2 separate regions of the Homo sapiens genome follow, and region 2 is linked to region 1. Evidence: promoter capture Hi-C in human tissues and cell types (Jung and others, 2019). All regions are on one chromosome and are shown on one strand. Each heading gives the region's core, a stretch centred on a gene start or on the middle of the fragment in contact. The rest is flanking DNA. Distances are from core to core; before and after follow the strand shown. Region 1 holds the start of SMDT1 (single-pass membrane protein with aspartate rich tail 1). Region 2 overlaps PACSIN2 (protein kinase C and casein kinase substrate in neurons 2).

What was found. Contacts are between HindIII fragments. The study calls those that stand out against the background at their distance.
Region 2: a contact is called between a fragment that was not itself captured here and the fragment with the promoter of SMDT1 in region 1, in 1 of the 25 tissues and cell types used here (lymphoblastoid cells).

What each region holds. Positions count from the first base shown.
Region 1 is chr22:42,077,999-42,082,867 of GRCh38, reverse strand. SMDT1 (single-pass membrane protein with aspartate rich tail 1) reads right to left here and starts at 3,168. Exons shown (of 3, transcript NM_033318.5): 1 at 2,914-3,168; 2 at 803-943. The coding sequence starts at 3,099. The coding sequence ends at 806. PHETA2 (PH domain containing endocytic trafficking adaptor 2) reads right to left here. Exons shown (of 3, transcript NM_001002034.3): 3 at 3,430-4,869. The coding sequence ends at 4,795. RefSeq lists enhancers at 2,651-3,423, 4,664-4,869 and a silencer at 3,449-3,743. The HindIII fragment of the contact is 9,212 bases long and covers 1-4,329 here.
Region 2 is chr22:43,000,123-43,005,146 of GRCh38, reverse strand. All of the region lies in intron 1 of PACSIN2 (protein kinase C and casein kinase substrate in neurons 2), which reads left to right. Among named protein-coding and RNA genes, the nearest start is that of PACSIN2, 13 kb to the left of the region's middle. RefSeq lists a silencer at 607-706 and an enhancer at 3,401-3,580. The HindIII fragment of the contact is 3,845 bases long and covers 517-4,361 here.

The sequences.
Region 1 (4,869 bases), core at 1,919-4,418:
CACATAATACCGAGTATTTGAAGAGAGGTACTGGTTGCTTAGAGGAAGGAGCCGTCAACTTTCAAATGAAAGGAGGAACGAAGACTTCAAAGACACTGTAGAATGGGTGGAATTAAGACCCAGAGCTCTGGGAAGGAGCCTTCCATGTGGGAGGAACAATGAGCCAATGTTTGGGGGTGGGTATGAGTGTGAAAACTCAAGAAATGGTGAATACTGGGAATCGGTGTGTGGCTGGAAATATGGAAGATGAGACTGGAATAAGAGGTGTGACCAGATTATGGCAAGCCTTGAATGCCAGGCTAAGGAACAGGAGTGTCCTCATCTCTTGACAGAATGCCATGCAGCACATATTAGAGCACATGAAGTTGGCTGGGCGCAGTGGCTCACGCCTGTAATCACAGCACTTTGGGAGGCCAAGGTGGGTGGATCACCTGAGGTCGGGAGTTTGAGACTAGCCTGGCTAACATGGAGAAACCCCGTCTCTACTAAAAATACAAAATTAGCCAGGCACAGTGGCGCATGTCTGTAATCCCAGCTACCCGGTAGGCTGAGGCAGGAGAATCGCTTGAACCTGGAAGGCAGAGGTTGCAGTGAGTCGAGATCATGCCATTGCACTCCAGCCTGGGCAACAAGAGCGAAACTCCGTCTCAAAAAACAAACAAACGAAAACATTAGCCACCAAGTGGGCCAATTCATTAATGCTTCTGCCCCCAGTGTCCAAATGCTGCTACCAGGCCAGACTGCATCACAGACAGATGCTCCACCCTGCTTCCTGCTCCATCTAGGGTAAAGCAAGTCTTACCTGTTAGTCATCATCATCATCATCCTCTGGAACAAAAATGTCATGTTCCTCAAGTAGAGCAGCAAAGTTCTTGCTAATGAGTGTCCCGACATAGAGAAAGGGGATCACAATGGAGAACACACGGAGAAGGCCGAAGGACATCTGCAGAGGGTCAGAGTGGCAGCTGTGAGCTCCAGAGCCCACTCTGGCAGGACCAAAGAAGACCTGGCCCTCTCACAGACATACCCTCAGACCCATCATAAGCAACTTGATTTTAAAGTCCTTGGAAAAATTCAGGGCAAGAAAAGTAATTAGAAAAGGAGAAGGCCAGGCAGGGTGGCTCACACCTTTAATCCCAGCACTTTGGGAGGCTGAGGTGGGTGGACCACCTGAGGTCAGGAGCTTGAGACCAGCCTGGCCAACATGGTGAAATCCCGTCTCTACTAAAAATACAAAAAATTGACCCAGCATGGTGGTGCGCACCTGTAATCCCAGCTACTCGGGAGGCTGAGGCAGGATAATTGCTTGAATCCAGGAGGCAGAAGTTGCAGTGAGCCAAGATTGCACCATTCCACTCCAGCCTGGGAGACAGAGTGAGGCTCTGTCTAAAAAAAAGACAAAAGGCCGGGCGCAGTGGCTCACACCTGTAATCCCAGCACTTTGGGAGGCTGAGGCGGGCGGATCACGAGGTCAGAAGTTCGAAATCAGCCTGGCTAACATAGTGAAACCCCGTCTCTACTAAAAATACAAAAAATTAGCCGGGTGTGGTGGTACATGCCTGTAGTCCCAGCTACTCAGAAGGCTGAGGCAGAAGAATCACTTGAACCCGGGAGGCGGAGGCTGCAGTGAGCCAAGATTGTGCCACTGTACTCCAGCCTGGGTGACAGAGTGAGACTCCGTCTCAAAAAAAAAAAAAAGGAGATAAGGTGACTGTTATGGCCATCAAAATGGACGAAAAGTCCACTGGAAAGAAAAGTCTAAGGCACCCTAGACATCTAAAGTTAGGACACAGCCTGCTAATTACTTTAAATCCCTACAGGCAATCGGGTGCACCAGTACTAGGAGGGCCAGACTACGGTGAGCTCTGCCTGAACACGAAATACACGAAAACCGATGACAGAAAGATGTACAGTGAAGGGATATTCTACACAGTTCACTAAGTAACAGGTTCCCTGATGCCTGAGAAATTTGATTTAAAAATTTTAGAAACAGATGTATTTGAAAGTGGGCATGTATTTACACTCAAAGACTTTAGATGGATTGGGAGAATGTCAGTAAAATCTCAGCAACATTTCTCTCGTATTCCTAGAATTAAAAAAATTTTTTTTTCAACTGTTTTGATAAGGCAGGTCTTTCCCAACATGGACCTACAGTCAATTGTGTGAGTTAGCATAGGCTAGACTAGCTTTAAGAGAATTTGTTTTTTTAACTCCCACACCACACAGCCCTGCAGTCGTAAAGCAAACTTTCGCTTGATATAAGGGACTGTTTCCGTTTTCCCTAGAAAAACTCAAGCATGTGATAGCGTTCAGTGTTGGAAAAAGACAGGACCTGGTGGGGACGGTACCAGGAAGAAACCCGGATGCTGCGTCCTCAGCGCTGGCCTTGGATACGAGCTTCACCGCTCTAGCCCGATTCTTCATTTGAAAACCCGTGATTGTAATAATTCCCTGCACATCTATCAGGACTGTAAATCACATGAATTAAATATTAGGTGACAACTAATAAAAAGATGAGGCCCGTCCCACGTACCCTTTATTTACAGAGTCCTTTCAAAATTCATATTTCATCCCATAAACTAGGAGACAGGCAGGGCAGAGATTACAGGACTGCTCTAAGCTAGAAGCACACGGCCTAGTCTTCTGACTCCAGAGGAGCAGAGCACCGCACCTCTCAGGACAAGCTAATGTAAAAGGCCAACTTCCTCAGCGTTTGCCCCCCATCTTCTGTCTACCTACCATTTTCTACACACCTGTCAAAATTAGCAACTCATTAGCGTATTCTTGGTCCGCCTTCCAGTCTACGGTAATCGTTATGATTGGCCTTGGCTCCTATCAATCAGCGCCGCCCTCACGCACTCCCCACAATGATTGGCCTCAGCCCCTTCGCCCCGTCTCCAGGAGGACACTCACTTTCACCGGTTTGGGCAAAATGGCGCCGCTGCGGGTAACGATGACTGACCTCGACGGTACCAGGCTCCGGCCTGAGCCGCTCCATGCGGCGGAGACATCGCCATCTTTCCTCAAGCTAGGCCCGCTCCGGAGAGCCCCGGACCTGACGGGTGCCAATACTAGCCAGCGAGCCGCTCCGGACGCCATGCCCCCAGCTCCGCCCCTCACCCGGGCACCCGCACCCCACCGCCCAGCCCTCGTGCCGCCCTCGGGAAGAAAGCCGCCCGAAGCCTCGCGAGAGTTTGAGGAGTACACGAGAAGCCCAGCCCTCCCACTCGCGCAGTGCCGGCGGCTCCTGGGGCGGCGGGAGGGAGGTGTTTGTCACTGGCCGGCATGGTGGCGTCACGAGAGTGGCGGCGCAGCCCCGGCTCCCTCAGTCCGCGTCCTGCTGGGCGTGGCCGCGGTCTTGGGTCCGCCCGGCCGTCAGAACAGGCCTCAGCGGCCGGTTGTGGAAATAAACCCAGGGAGCGGAAGGAGTAATAACGAAAAAGCTTTACTAGTGTTTTAACCGTGTACAAAACACTGTAGCAATAAGAGAAAGGCCCGTGCTATCTGTGTTTAAACAAAATGCAGTGGCTGCGGGGCTTCCAGGCAGGGCTGGGGAACAGGCCGGGCGCCCGCCTTGGGCGCATCTCCGCCTCTTAGGGGTAAGAGGCTCAGAGCCTACCCCTTAGGCCTAGTTGGATGCGGGTCGGTCCTGCCCAAGGCCCCAGTGAGGGGAGCCGAGGCTAGGAAGGGGCAAGTTTTATGTGTTTGGGAGGGGGTGTCTCTTCCCGGCCTCTGCGTCTTCCCCCTGGAGCGTCAGTATGGTCAGGCTCTGGTGACCCAGCCGCTTTGCCTCCCGACTTTGGGAAGAGTAGCAAGGAGAGGTCCTGGCAAGTACACCCTGGGTGACAAACGGCTATGAGAGTTCCCAGGTGATTTCTCGAGCAGCTTCAGTTTACCGGAGCCCAGCCAGGAGAGAGAATTTTAGCACAGGAAACGCAATCCCGTGTCCAAGCTCCTAGAATACCCAGGACTGAGAACCAAAGCAACAGACTTTTCCCAGGGAGCCACACTGCCTCCCCACCTCTTCTTTAACCCCTCACTTGGCAGCTCCAGGAGTTGGCTGCTGAAGACAGAGTACAGGAGGGCATTTCGTTGACGTAAAAAAGCTACAAGCCCCTTCCGGGGCAAGGTCCAGCACCATCTGTTAACAGGGCAGCCAGGGAGAAAGGATGGGACCCCAGCACTCTGAGCAGAATAAATCTCTCTTCACTGGCCGAAGACCCTCTGCCTCAAAGGGCCCTACCCAGACTGCTGAGTGAGGATCCCATCCCCAATCTTCCCACCCCTCTCAGGAAGAGCTGGGTCCCAGAAACTCCTATGACACAATAAATCCACTTTCTCTGACAGTGTCAGAGCTTCAAGCCGATACTGCAGCCTACCTCGGATTTAAGTGCACAGGAGACTCCCCAGGTTGGAAATTATGGCTCTAGAGCCCGGTGTGTAGGCCAAAGGTATGGCAAGCCTGTGACAGTCTCGGGTGACATTCCCCACTTCCTTCATTTCATTAACATCCCCTGGGAGGGGGCAGTCAGGCCAGTGCAGTCAGGAGATTGGGGTCTTGCTCTGTGGCTGCTAAGTCTCCTTCCTTCTCTGGACCTCAGGAAATAAAGAGGATGGAAGGAATGGTCCCGCAGTCCCTTCCAGACACACGGGTGGATCTCGAACCTGGAGAATGCCTAAATAGCAGGAAGGAGAGAACCCATGTCCCCTCCCAAAACGCAACCTTGGAAATGGGTAAACATTTAACTCCTGAAAAAGAACTGGCCCTGGTTTCCTGACTCAAAGGGCCCAGACTTAGGGCCTATCCTGTTCCTCACATTTTGAGTGGCTCCCCTGGGCCCTCTTCTGCCAACACTGCCGCAGCTCCAC
Region 2 (5,024 bases), core at 1,190-3,689, 920 kb before region 1:
AACACGCAGCAGTGATAGTTAAGGCTTTAGAATTATAGGAAGTTTCTCCTTGTTTTCCACACAGTACCATTGCCCTTTTACTTTTAGATTAATGTTTAAGTAATAACTTTGTAATTAAAATAAGTATAAATAAAAAGAGCTTGGTTGTCTAGGCATTTGCATTTTACCAAGAAGCTTTCCATAGCCCTCATTTTGTTTTCAGGACAGCCTTGTTGATTTGTTTCCCTTTTCATTGTTTAGAGGAGAAAGAGAGTCAGAGCTAAAGGGGTGAGTGGTTTTGCCTGAGGCCACCTGCCAGGACCCCATATGGGCCTCTGAGCCCAAGCCCAGAGCGCCCAGGGAGGCCTGTGACGGGGCCTCTGCCTGGACCTGCAGGGTGGTCTTTAGATAGGATCAACTGTGTATTCTGAAGTTTCCTATTGAATGAAATGAAATCTTCTTAATGTAAAGTGATACCCAAACCGTAGTTTGTGAGCATTTTCATGTTTTAAACTGCATTTGTCTTTCATTATATTAAATTATGTTGTCGCCAACCGAGCGTGCCAAGATCATGAATTGTGGTCTTCAGAGGAACCACAGAGCAGGCAGTGCTCCCTGTACAGACGTCCAAGCCCGCTATTAGTGGGTTCTGTAGCTGTCTGATTGGCTGGAGCTGGCTGCCTGCTCGCCACTTAGCTCGCACGTGGTGATGCTTTAATTAAGCAATTGCGACCTTTGCTCCTGCAAATGTGTCATCAGATAAGGAGACTGGGCATGTGCCACCAAGGAGGATGTGCGTGGGGGGTGCAGAGTCAGTGGTGAGGGGCTGTCTGCACAGGCCCCCATGTTCTGAAGTTTCTGAGGGACCATTCAAGAAGCTTTACATTCCTGCCCATTTAATTCTTGCAACCAGATAGTGTTCTCTCCACTTGATCCATCAGTAAACCTAAGCTCAGAGAGATTCAGTGGCCTTCAGAGGGTCACCATCAGAGCTGGTGCTCTGCCTACCGAAGCCCACACTCATTTCACCTCCTCTGGCTGGCTGGAATAAGTAAGTTGTGAATCACTCTCAGATGTGAACATCTTTAAAAGATAATTAATCTTTCTCCCCCACCTCTGAGAAACATAGACATGAGGGAGATTATGTGTGTCCTTTGCTTAAGACGGCATCTATGTCTGTAACTAACTTGGTTTCAATAATCTGAAAGTTTACAACCATTTACACAGCAGGGAGATAAGGGCACAAAAGGGAGAGCTGCTGGGGTGCGGTCAAGGCCGTGGGTGACTCGCTGGTACACCCACCCCATGATGCATCCCACGTGGGACAGGAGGAAGATTCCAGAGGCCCTGGCTTAGGAGTGCCTCATCTTCGGCAGATGCATTTTAAAAGGCATCTTATGCTGTTAAAGAGCAGGTAGACAAGGGAGAAGAAATTGTGTTTCTGTAGAGGACTGCACTTTGTAAAATTGCGAAAGGTCTTCACATTTTGTCAACGTTGTGATATCACATAAGAGCATTTGCTCAGGTATATTAGAGCAGATATTTGTTTTGTTTTGTTTTATTTTGAGACAGAGTCTTGCTCTGTCGCCCAGGCTGGAGTGCAGTGGCGCGATCTCGGCTCACTGCAAGCTCCGCCTCCTGGGTTCACACCATTCTCCTGCCTCAGCCTCCCAAGTAGCTGGGACTACAGGTGCCCGCCACCACGCCCAGCTAATTTTTTGTATTTTTAGTAGAGACGGGGTTTCACCGTGTTAGCCAGGATGGTCTCTATCTCCTGACGTGATCCGCCTGCCTTGGCCTCCCGAAGTGCTGGGATTACAGGCGTGAGCCACCGCGCCCAGCCGATATTTGTTTTTATGCTTGGGATAATCATCACTTTTGTGTCAAATGACTTCTTTTTTGCTTTCTTTAAATCTTTTAAAAATTGAAGGTTCAACATAGAAAACAATGTTCTGAGTAAAAAACTCTTTGTAGTTTACCTTCCACGCACAAAGTGGTTTTTGTGTATCTTGATCAAGTAACCTATTCCCTGCCAACTTTGTACCAAGCTTCAGAAGAGGCAAGAGAGGTACGTTGTCTCTGTCCTGCCTCAAGGCAACACTTCGAGGTTGTTAGTTTGAATGTGAGGAAGCTGTAGGTAGTGAGATCAGGTGCCTAGTTCAAGGCCATCCAGTTTGTAGATGGGAGAGATCTGGAGCTTGAACTGACCTCGCTGTTTCCTTTTCAATAACTGACATTGTTATAATTGTATTATTCAGATTCACTTAAATATTTTCTCAAGTATTTTCCATGTTTTACCTTCATCTTCAAAAAGATTATTAATGGTTATATTATCCTGTTGACGTAATGAGATTAAAACATTCCCTAGTGCTGGACATTTTAGGTTATTTCCACTTTTTTGCTAATGTAGATGAATTTGCAGTTTATAATTTCATCCTTTTTCATCTGTGTAATTAGTTCCTGGGGATAAATTCCCGAGAATAGAAATCTTGTATTAAAGGGTATGAACACCTTAAGAGTGTTTTGAAAGCCTGTCTTGCTGCTTGTAAGTGTATTTTTCTGATTTTTTGGGTGAAAAAATGGGGATTCTTTCTCTTTAAAGTGCCTGCCTTGGCCTTTAGAACTTCCAAGTATCTGTGAGATAAGAAAGTTCTGTGAGGGTTTCTTAAATGAGTCACATTTCCTTCCTAAGTTTCTGGATATCATTTTACTTGAATTGGTTGCCATACTTTGATGAGCAAGGAACGCTGTTTTAGAAAATCCTTACTACTTGATGATTAATCCTTGGAGCTAATGTTCCACGTTCCCAAGGTTGTGAGTGCTTATGGCCACATTCCTGCATCAGCTCAGCCATCGCGGTAGGTATCTCACAGACCTTCTCTAGCTTTCTTTTCCTCACTTAAGGGATGCATATTGGAAAGACTCTGCAGGGTTCTTTCTGCCAGGCAGCCTGGGGGTCGTGTGGTCCTTTAGAGTTCATCTCTAGCTTCTAGATGCTGCTCTCATGGGGGTTCCTGGCTCTGTTCATCTCCAGAGACAAGCATCTCAAAGGGAACCTGGGAAGTTTATAGCACTGGTGCTTGCTTGCCTTGTTTGCTTGTTTGTTTTTCTGTTCTGGTCTGCTGTGGAACTTGTCACCATGTCCCCTCCCCATGGACTGACTTTCCTACCCTCCACTGTCCCTTAGGTATTCACTCTCAGACTGAGTGGTGTCCTGTTTTCCTGGTGGCTCATTTGCCAGGGTCTGCAAAGGACAAGGTGCTTAGCAGGGACAGAGAGGGGCTCCAGGTGGGGAGCAGTGGTCAGGCCAGCTGACCTTAGTGCTTACCCCTGGGTCCCCTCCCTAGAATTCCTGCGATGCCTCCACCATGTCTACCCTCTCCCCACAGGGGCTGTTTCCCTTTTAGTTCTCTTGCCTTACTGTGGGCAAAAGCTTACTTTTCTTGGTTCCTCTTATCCCAGCTAAGAAAAGCTGATGTTCACAACAAAATGAAGAGACTTGACTACCCAGGAAGGTAGACATAAGAGGAAACAGCCACAAACAGCACAGGCATACAAGTGTCTTGCTTCCCAAGCACAGGCAGGTTTTTGTGCCCACACTTCAGGGCTCGTCTGACTGCACTGGCTCTGCCAGGCGCTGCCCAGCTTCCTGCTTCCCCTCCCAGTCCTGCTTCTTCTGTCAGTAAAACAAAATTTTAGAGTGATGCTTTGCTTGATGCTTTGGGGGCTGCATTTTTATCACAAGTGTGGAAATTGTACTTTGCTCTGGTTTCTACAGATGCCTAAACATGTCTAGGTTGCTGTTGCCTTGGCAACTGGCTGAGCTGTTGGTTGTGTGTGTGGTGAAGGTTCTGGCAGGGGCTTCATGGAAGCCTCTGGTCATCCTTAGAGCTTTTCAGCTAAGCTGGCGGTTACTCCCAAGCCCAGAACCATATGCTCTTAGCTCCCCTTTGTCGTTTGGAGCTTCCCATTTTATTTCCCTGAGAAATCCCTGCTCAGCTGCCCTAGACTTGGGTGGGTGGTATGGCATGGCATGGCATGCACTGATAGGGCTGATTTATTTCGAGACTGGATTTTTGGTAACACAAGACGTGATTCCATAGCAGCCCTTGGCCTAAGTTTTATTTGAGGTCGGACGGGGCCCAAGGGCTGCTTGTGCTCTCCCTTCAAGTGCCTTCTGCTTTTTAGGCCTGGGGTGCTTGTTGGGGCCCAGAGCTGGGCCTTGCCTGAGAGTCACGCAAAAGCAGGGCCTTCCAGTACTCCAGAGGGGTACTCCTGACCACCTGTAAGCCATGGGAAGAAAGTCAATGTGATTGGATCACGGCAGTGCCACACAGTATGTCTCCTTTTATGAAGACTGAGTGAAAGGATATAATCAATTCCAGTTTTATCCTTTGTTATTTTCTTTAATGCTTCTTGTATTTCCTTTTGGATTTATTTCTTTTCTTCTTAGTCTTGCAAATGTGAGTCTGAAGTTGCTGATGTGGGGGTTGGGGCTGACTCATCACCTCCCCTTATAGCTCAGACAAGTCACCTTCCTTAAAGTTTTTTGGGTGTACGCTCATTTCCAGAATTGCTATTTTGGGCCCATGCTTTTCTCTCTGCTGCCTCTACTAGGAACTTGCAGGTTCACGAAATTTAGAAATAGTTTAACATAACATGAGCTCTTACTAGTAAGTAAAGAGGTGAGTAGAGAGAGAAACCTCCTCCAATCCTCCAAACCCTCCAAAAGCCTCATGTTAGCAGTGTGATTGGTGGAGGTGGAGACAAACTCAGTCCATTGGGAACTCGTGGGGTTACCAGGTGGGAGAGGGGAGTTCTCTCCTTGGGGTAGAGTTGGCAAATTACCAGTCCCCACAAAGGCTGCAAAGCCCTGCTACCCACTCCCTGTGCATCCTGCTGTCCAGGATGGCTGGCTTTTGGGGTCCTGACCTGGAACCCGGGTTGCTTTTCCCCATAGGAGGGCCTCTGTCTGGAGCAGAGGTTCAGGGAGAAGCCTCTGGCATGTTTTGGTCTTGGGCCGGCCCCGTCCATTGGGGCTACAA